2 separate regions of the Homo sapiens genome follow, and region 2 is linked to region 1. The links are contacts of gene promoters, found by promoter capture Hi-C in human tissues and cell types (Jung and others, 2019). All regions are on one chromosome and are shown on one strand. Each heading gives the region's core, a stretch centred on a gene start or on the middle of the fragment in contact. The rest is flanking DNA. Distances are from core to core; before and after follow the strand shown.

Region 1 (4,571 bases), core at 1,599-4,098:
GGTGGGACTGGAAAATGCTTTTGGAAAACTGTCAGTTTCTTAAAAAGTAAAGGATTTATCTAGTAGCTCCACTGTTATGCATTAACTTCAGAGAAATAAAAGCATATGTTCATACAATGACTCATACATGAATTTTCAGAGCAGCTGTAAATGTATTAGTCCTGAACTGGAAACAACTCAGATGTCCATCGACAAGTGACTAGATAAACTGTGGTATATCTGCACAGTGGGATACTCCACAGCAAAAAAAAGGAATTGATACATGCAATAACATGGAGAAATTTCAAAATAATGTAATTATGCTGAGTGAAAGAAGCCAGACAAAAAAGATTCCATTTATATAAAATACTAGATATGCAAACTAATCTATAGTGACCTAAAGCAGATTAGTAGTTTCTAGAGAAGGAAGAGGGTAAAGCAGAGAAAGAAGGGAGACAGGGATTATAAATGACCGTCAAAAATTTTTTAGGGTTATGGATGTTCTCTTGATTATGGTAATGGTTTCAAAAGTAAATATATGTCAAAATTCATCAAATTGTATATTCTCATTTAATGTGCAGGGTATTGCATGTCAATTATACCTCAATAAAGTTGTAAAATGTTTTTTTAGAGGGTGTAAACTGTGAACACTGCATATCAGTGTTCATCCTTTTGCTCTTACATGATGACAAGGAAGAACAGTAGACATCTCCTATGAATAAAATGGAACTATATAATTGTTTAAGCAAAAACATCACTTAATGATGGAAATATTTTTAAAAAAATTTTAGGCTGTGTGGTAGCTCGCACATATAATCCCGGCACTTTAGGAGGCAAAGGCAGGAGGATCACTTCAGCCCAGGAGTTCAAGACCAGAATGGGAAACATAGGGAGACCCCATCTCTACGAAAAATTTAAAAATTAGCTAGGTGTGTGGGCACATGTCTGTGGTCCCAGCTACTTAGGAGGATGAGATGGGAGGATCATTTGAGCCTGGAAAGTCGAGGCTGCAGTGAGCTGTAACTGCACCACTGCATTCCAGCCTGGGTGACAGAGCAAGACCCTGCCTCAAAAAAAAAATATTTTTTTAATTTTTAAATACTTTATTTGTCTTAAACGTATAAGCAATCCTCACTTGGCACAGTCTGATATGAATTTCAGTTACCACAGTTTATTAACCGTGAGAAATAGCATAAAAGTTTGCTACTAGCTTTTCAGTTCACAAATCATTACATAAATAACATATGAATCAAAATTGACCAATTTGCAATTTTACTTCTTTCAAAGTCTATGGGTGATTGGTCACTGTGCATCTGTTATTCAGTTCACACACAGGCTGCAAAGCATGGAGGTTTGTTATTAATATTTCTGTGCCCTTGAGATAAACCCACATGGAATTTTACAGATTAAAAGAGGAAATTGGCCAAAAGAATGAAAGTGCACTAAAGAAGAGTGATAATACTAGAAGTGAAACTTGCATTAAACATAAATGGAGCAAATGAAAAAAAAGCTGCCTGTGGGAACATGCTGATTGTGGCAACAATGACACTGCCGCCATTTGAGACATTCTAGATATGCAGACTGAGGAAATCAGTGAAGGTGAACTTATAGACATAAATGAGGAAAAGTGATTGTGATGAAAGGCTGATGATGTGTCAGAGGAAGTGACACTGGCAAAAAAAACACATTAAAGGAACTCTCAGAGATATTTCACAACATTGAAAACGTAATGGATAAAATGTTGGAAACTAATATTTAAATTTCTCCAGAACGCAGAACTCATAAGCAACTGTGTTCTCCAAGTAAATATCTTCACAGGTTCCTCAATTAATGTGGGCAAAATTAAAAGTACAACTTGCTTCTTCCCTTTGGAAAACCCTCTCTCAGAGTATATTACCAACATTCAACTTCTTATACAAGGCATAGATCTGGGAATCATTATTCATTCTTCTCTTTTTGTCATTCACGTATCCACTCAATTTCCATGGCCTGTTGATTCTATTTCTCAGACGTTGTTCAAATCTCTCCACTATCTTTATTCTACTTGGCAACTCTGTGGCCCAGGCTTCCAACAACTCTCTCCCGGACAAGTGTAATCACAACAGTTACCTAACTTGGCTCCCACTCTTGTTCTCAGTTGCAACCCATTCTCCAAGCAGAAAACAAAATGCAATAGCTGTTACCTTATTCTCATCTTCACACCTCTACTCAAGTACACAAGGCTCTTCCTCATCTAGTTTCTGTCTACTTCATCTCTTGTCAATGGTCCCTACCCCAATTCTCCGCTCTAGTCATTCTGAACTTTGTTCAATTCCTGGCCTGTGTCCTCTGCCTTTAATAGGCTGCCTGGCACACTGTAGGAATTCACTAAATATGCAGACTGAATGAATGAACGAGTCCGTGGAGGGCAGTTATTCTTTGGAGTAACTTAAGAGAGAAGGAATACAGTACAACGAAGTATTCTTATTTAGGTTTATAGTGTCTTCACCTGAGCCCGCGGGGGAACCCCCCCCCCACCCCCGGGGAACCCCCCCCACCCCCGCCGCCCCCCGCCTGCAAGTTGTTACCAGTAAATAAAAGGGATCCTATTTTAGCAAGCCACACAGCATTAGAGGGCAAATAATAGTTTGGTGGCAGGAGAGCGATGAGACGGGAAAGTGTGGGGCAAAGCTTACAGTCATTGGTCCAGATTCTAACTGGCCTGTTAGCCAAAAAGTAAGGTTTTCTTTACCTCCGTGTTGACTCTGCTCTCCGAAGGCGAAGAGGGTCCTCCAAACCCGTTTGGCGTGCGGACAAAAACCCCAGCATATCGTGTCCTCACACCGGCTGGAGCACTGGACGTCGCCATGACAGAGCTCAGGGGCGGGACTGGAACAGCAGAGTCTCCCATTGGTCAGTCGGTGATATATCCGGCCAATGGTGAGCGCCGTTACTAGAAGGGCTCCAGGATGGAGGCCGACCTGACTTCTCCGCCTCGGTGGGCTGGGTCGGCGGCTGGAGCATTACCCCTACTGCGGGTCCCGCTGCTGGCAGCGCTGGAAACTGGGTGGACGGCATGGGTTGGTCTCAGGATTTGTTCCGCGCCTTGTGGAGATCGCTGTCAAGGGAAGTGAAGGAGCACGTGGGCACGGACCAATTCGGGAACAAATACTACTACATCCCGCAGTACAAGAACTGGAGAGGTGAGGTGGCGGCGTGGGCAGCGATTGCGTGGTCAGTGATTGCGAGGTCAGTAAAGGAGGGAAAAGTGAGAGCCCCTAGTCAACTAACGCATCATGCGACACTTAGGGTGTCACCGGAGAGAATTTCCCGAGTTCGTTCTCCCCTGTCGACCCCTTCACTCTGGCATCGGAGCCCTACCCGGCCCGGCTCTGGGCGCCTTGGCCCGGCCTCGTGCGTCCGCGGTCCCTACTACCCAGCGCCTTCCCCCGGCGTGCCCCGGGCTGCTTGCGCTGTTAAGGCGCACCACCACTTTCCTCCCAGCCACGCCTGTAGAGGAGCCTCAGTTTTAGCCCTGGACTGGCGACGGAGGCAGGGAAAAGTCCACGGAAATCTTTCACCAAAGGGGCTAGAAGGGCCAGGGGAGGGGTTTTTCGTACGCTGTTCCCCGCCTTGTGACCCAGAGCTGAGTGGTGTAATTGAAGAGGAGTATCTTCAGCGCCTCGGCTGTCTTCTTTCTTGGTGTTTACCCTTTTCGGTGGCACCCTGGCTCCGGCGCTGGCCCCATGCGCCTTCCTTACTACCAAGACTTGTCAGAAGTAGGTCCATATCCCCACAAGGCTCGCTGATTCCTTTCTCGGGAGTTGACATTCCAAGACCCCGTTGAGCTCAATTTAAGAAACGTGGCAATAATCATGGTGTTACTGTGTAGGATTCGTGCCAAGTAGTTGAGCGGGTTGTTTGGGGAGTAAGGAGGCGTTGCTGTCCATTGAAATCACACTGTGTAGCCGCCGTCGTAACCTCTTCTGTGTTGTTCCATCGCCGCATGCAGAAAATGTCAGGTTTTGGGCGAAGAGGCGTGGGTTAGAATCTCAGCTTTGACACCTGATAGCTCGGGAATCACGGAAAAAGTACTTGTCCTCTCCAAGTCTCAACATCCTCACTTGAAAGTTAGAGATAATATAAGATCAGCAATGTTGAGAAGCACTAAGACCTTTCCAAGATTATGTGCCATTCATTTCCCACACATATAAAATGTATTCTGTGATTTATCACTCAATTAATTTATTTTTGCCTGGCCTTTTTCTGTAACTTATTTTAATATTTAGACTTGTTTCCCTAATGAGCTCCTCTGTCAGGCAGGGAATATGTCTCACAAAAAAAGAAAAAAGCCTGCAAAGAACATAGCATGGTGTTAAGTATTTCTTGACAGGTTGCAAGCAGAGAGATGTTTCTTTTCCATAAGTTGTCAGTAAAATTAAAAATATGCAAACTGTCAGACTGAGTTTTTTTAAATTGAAATATAATTTACATACAGTAACATTCACCCTTTATGGTGTACAGTTTTATTGTTTTTGACAAATGAGTAGAGTAACCTCACTGGATTCAAGTAATAGAATAATTCCATCACCATCAGAATTTCCTCCAACTCC
Region 2 (5,117 bases), core at 657-3,156, 880 kb after region 1:
ACAGAAGAAGAAACGGCAGGATTTAATGTTGAACTGAAAGTGCCTCTGGGGTTGTGCTGGGATGGGAGATGTGCTACAATTATGAGGAAATAAGATACTGGGAACTTGTTTAAGAGTAAATGGGAACTAGAAAAGGATTTGGGCCAGCGAGATAGGAAGAACAAAGGTAGGAAGGCAGGGTGCCATTACACGGGAGTTGGTGCTAGAGCCAAGAGAAACATTTAACAGCCCACCCGATACCATGCCTATGGGAAGCTGTTCCTCCCCTCCCCTCTTCTCCCACCTTGGATGGTCACTTTCTTCCATGTTTGTATCTGCTTCTATTCTCATATCAAGCACAAATGTGTGTTGTAATACGTCTTTGTCTGTCTATGCCTGCTACTAATCTGTGAGCTCCCTGAAGACAGAGGCCCTATTTTACTCCCTTTCTACTCCCAGGGCTTAGTTAGCACAGGGACCAGCCCTTGGCTAGCACTCATCACGTTTTGGTGAATGAGGAAATAAATGAATGGAAACTTTCCAGAGGTGTGCCGTTGAACCCCAGCCACCACACAACACTGTAAAACTTACAAATTTTGTGGCAGCTGCAGCATCCCTCAAACACTTGTGCAGATCAGGTTACAGCTGAGAGCCTCACAAAACCCCAGCCATTGCAGCAATTGACAGGTGGTCCTAGATGTAAGACTGGGATTGCCAGACAGGAGGCTGGAGTAGTTAAGATAGTGCTGGGGGGATTTGAGATCAAATTGCAGGGTTGTTTAAACACCTTAGGGTTACAAATGGGTTTTCACCCTTAAAATCCCATTTGCAAATATGTAGCCTTAAACTGTCCAAATAGTTATCTTAATGATGTTAAATCCCTGGGTTGGTAGAGGTCATAAGAAAGGCCTTGCATATTTTCATCCTGTTCCTTTCACTGAAATTACATTTGTGTTACAATGAAATGTGAAAACTGGAAAATACATAAAAACAAACCTTTCCCTACCACATGCTATGCCACCAGCCAATACCAACTAAATTTGCTAAACCTTCTAGATAACTACCATTTATTCAGCTTTTACTATGTGCCAATCACTGGGTTTTATACATCTTATAGTATAGCATTTAATATTCATAAGTGCATGAGATAGTCACTATTGCTCCCATTTTATAGATGAGCAATCTGAGGCTTAGGGAAGTTAAATTACTTGCCTACTGGGTGTGTGATATCATGAGCTCATCATTTGGTTGTGCAACCTTCCAGCTGACAACAAGAGAGACAAGCCTGGGAAGGACTGAGAGGCACGGCTGCAAAGATAGCTGGGAATTTGTCAGGAAATGATCACTAATGGGAACCATTGAGCAGCGCAGTCCTCCCAGAGAGCACGTGCAGAGGGAGAGAGAGTGCTCCAGACCGCAATTTAGAGTAGGACCCTGGGGAACACCTTGGGAAATAGAAGAGAAGACAGCATGGGGCCAAATGACTTTTCCAAGGAACAGTTGGGAGGTCCACTCGAAGATCACAAGAGTCCCTCTGCAGCCTCAGCACACTGGTAGCAGGGCCCCTAGCTTCTGCCTCTATTTCTTCCCACCTATCCTTTTCCTATCCATTCTATCCCAATGTATAAATGATTAGATTGGATGACAACAGTATTTTCAATTCTATCCATGGAAAGCAGCTTGTGATTTTAAAGGGAACATGGACTTTGGTGTTTGCTATACTTGGATTCAGATCCTAGCTCCATTCCTTGCTGGCAGTGTGGCCTTGGGGAGATACTCAGTCTTTTTGAAACTGCTTCCTTACTTACATCATGAGGTTAATGAACCTGCCTCACTAGCTTTACATTTGACAAGGGGATTTGTTAACAAATGTGAGGACTTCTGTTTTCAGAAATATGGCAGGCTAGATGTGCAGAAGCTGCTCCCGAGAAGTGACTCCCTAAGATCCTAGATGAAATGTAATAAGTACTTTTTAAAAGCATGGCTATTCTGGCAATAAAGTAAATAATTGAAGGTCAGAAGTGACAAAAAAGGAGAATTCCAAGAGATAAGCTAGTGATGAGTAACAAATTATCCTAAAACTTAGTCTATTAAAATGATAAACATTTATTATCTCCTAGTTTCTGTGGGTTGGAAATTTGGGAGCTGTTTGGTTGGGTGGTTTTGGCTCAGAGGCTGCAGTCAAGATATTGGCCATGGCTAAGATCATCTGAAGGCTTTCTGGGGCTGGAAGATGTGCTTCCCAGATGGCACACTCACATGGCTTTTGGCAGGAGGCCTCAGATCCATGCCAAGGTGCCTCTCTATAGAGCTGATTGAGTGTCCTGACACTTTAGTAACTGGCTTCCCCCAGGATAAGCAATCCAAGGAGAGCAAGGAGAAGGCCCATAGTGTCTTGAAAGTTGCGTACCATGACTTCCACTATTTTCTATTCATTAGAAACAAGTCATCAAGTTCAGCTCACACTCTAGGGGAGTGGAATTTAGTTTCCACTTTTTGAAGGGAGAAGTACTGGAGAATATGTAGATATATTTTAAAACCAGTACAGCTAACATTTTTCCCAAATCCAAGAATTATCCTGGTGGCCTAGAGTCACATTCAGAGGGGACTAGAGACAAAGCCTGGGGCTCTGAATAAAACATCACCCTTGAAGGGTTACACCCTCAGTAGGATAACCTGCCTCACAGAGCAACATTTGTCTGCCTGAACCTTTGCTTGGGGGATTCGGACACACATTTATGCTATCTCAATGGCCTAAAAACCCCAAATTAACCATGTGGTTAAAAATAACTCCAGGTTGATGAGGCCTCTCTTTGAAGAACACGGTGCTCAAAAAATTATTATAAATAAAATTTCAGGGAATATGAGATGATGAACAAAAATTGCTAAAAACATGATAAAATGAGCAACATGAACAAGAGACAACAAAACAAGAAAAGACAGGCTACCTCCACAGGAACCATGATCAAATTGGCTGCCGACTTCTCAGGATCAACCCTGGAAACCAGCTGACGATGTTACAATAAATGTAGAAGTGTTTATTTCAGATGTTCTTTAGTTGGAGCTTGGAGAAAGGCTGGAGTAAGTACAGTCAATCTAGAATCTGGACTCTAAATGAAAGCATAACGGGACTTCAGAAAAGTGTAAAATATGAAGGGATATAGCAGTGAAGGTGGTAAAAGGTCATTTATTTGCCTTCCAAGAAGCCAATGAAGCCCCAAGAATGGCACAAAAAGAGCAAAACTGCACTTTCTTTTGCCATTTTGATGGCAAAGGATGGTTTTGTCCATGTCCAGAGCACTTAGAAGCTTCCCACTACCCAAGGCCAACCAGGGCAACAGTAGTGAAACAATGAAGGGCAAACAATTGCCCTTTAGCATGTGACTTTTCACACAGCGCCTGCAGAAATTCAAATGATGGTTTTAAATTGAACTTTTCTAAAACTCAAAAGAGATATAGGTGATTTGTTTGATGGAAGCTGTTTTGTTGATTATAGTAAAGGTGAAAAGATCTTAGGAGACAACATAGTTCAAACTCCTAATTTTAAAGGCCAGGAAACTGATTCCCAGAGAGAAGAAGCAACTTGCTTATGGTGAGATTTACACAGACCAGAAACCAAGTTTCTGGTATGTCCTGCTGGATTACTTCCCCCATGAGACATAGGAGAGTTAAGTACCCAAATAAAAGCATTATCTCAGCCATGATCTCCAATGCAGTGATTTCTTGCTTCTTGCTCCTCACTCAAGTCCAGGCAGCTCAGGAGAATATCTTGGATGAGCCAGCGGGAGCATCCTGGAAGCCTGCTCTTGGTTGGAAAACCTTGGTCAGCTAGGACTAAGATCAGGACCACCTACCTACCCAGGATTCTACAGGAGTGATGAGGGAATCGGGTCTTATTTTTGTTATTTTTCAAGTTAATTATGTAAATGGGCATCTATTTAGTGCACTTGGCATTCAAATCAGATTTAATGGTAAGAGTGATTTGCTTCCCATACTGCTCAGTGAAGAGGAGATCATTTCCAATATCTTACAAGAGTTACAAAGTATTCACACAAACAGGACATTGTCTTTATTCCAAATCCCTTACATTTTCTTTACCTGGATTTGAAACTGTATGGAGCTAGACATGCCCTGTGTATACACCTCCCTATGTGTTTCATCCTAGAGTATGTGTTGAATGTAACCTTGATACACTCATATACCAAGAAAATGTTAGCTGTGCTGGTTAGATGTTGAATGTAACTTGATAAACTCCATACTCCCAGGTTTCACCTTCTCTGCCTGATTCTAGGAGACAGCCATTTTTTCACTAGGGAGCTAGACCCATGAAGCCACGAGACCTGGTAACTGAGGGTTGCATGACGCACAAAGCCCTGTCAGTTACCCTGATAAGTATCAGACATCATTTTGGAAGTTTCTCTAAGGCAGAATCCTCCACCCCACTTTGGGCTGCCCTCCAACTAACTGGAAAACTGCTTCATTTTGCTAATGATGACCTGGGTTTGGGTTTCTTATCATTTTTGTTTCCTGGAGGCCAGTAGCCACAGATATGAATCAAACAAGAAAAGAGGGCAAGTCAGGGTGGAATTTTCCCAGCCTCTGTTTTCCTTCCAAGTGCAGATTCCCTGACTGGGGTGTAGCAGCCTGCAGAAATTTTGACCTGAATGAAAGAGGAAACGTTGTGCTCAGAGGGACTGCATAGGTACTCTAGGAGAAGGTGCTCTATAATAACCACAAAGCCCTAAGTATAAGGGGCTTATTAAAGCTCATATCCTTTGAGGCAACCCTGGAACTGTTCTTTCCCAGCCCTTCTCTCATGTCCTCCCCCTTTCCCCTCTGGCAAGGACTTTCTGGGATAGAACATGCTCTGTTCTAGAAACTGGTCAGAGCTTCTTTTTCATTCTGAACATAGATTTGCATGGTTTAAAAAATAAATCCAAAAGAGTAAATTGGAATAGACCTTCCGGAGGGAAACTGCAATATGTATGAAATCCCAAAAAGCAGTTACATTTGGGGAAATTTATGCTGAAGAAACAATCAAGCTCATGCATAGAGGTCTAAGTGCAAGGATATTCATCTGGCCTTGTTCATGTGAAAGTAAAAACAATGGGATTCCAGAGTTTCTGCTGAGTGGGGTC

What was found. Contacts are between HindIII fragments. The study calls those that stand out against the background at their distance.
Region 2: a contact is called between a fragment that was not itself captured here and the fragment with the promoter of ERCC8 in region 1, in 1 of the 25 tissues and cell types used here (dorsolateral prefrontal cortex).

What each region holds. Positions count from the first base shown.
Region 1 is chr5:60,942,222-60,946,792 of GRCh38, forward strand. It overlaps ERCC8 (ERCC excision repair 8, CSA ubiquitin ligase complex subunit), which reads right to left and starts at 2,849. Exons shown (of 12, transcript NM_000082.4): 1 at 2,711-2,849. The coding sequence starts at 2,787. NDUFAF2 (NADH:ubiquinone oxidoreductase complex assembly factor 2) reads left to right here and starts at 2,984. Exons shown (of 4, transcript NM_174889.5): 1 at 2,984-3,161. The coding sequence starts at 3,035. RefSeq lists an enhancer at 3,620-3,749. The HindIII fragment of the contact is 9,089 bases long and covers 798-4,571 here.
Region 2 is chr5:61,823,375-61,828,491 of GRCh38, forward strand. No RefSeq gene overlaps it. Among named protein-coding and RNA genes, the nearest start is that of LINC03123, 90 kb to the left of the region's middle. The HindIII fragment of the contact is 6,307 bases long and covers 1-5,060 here.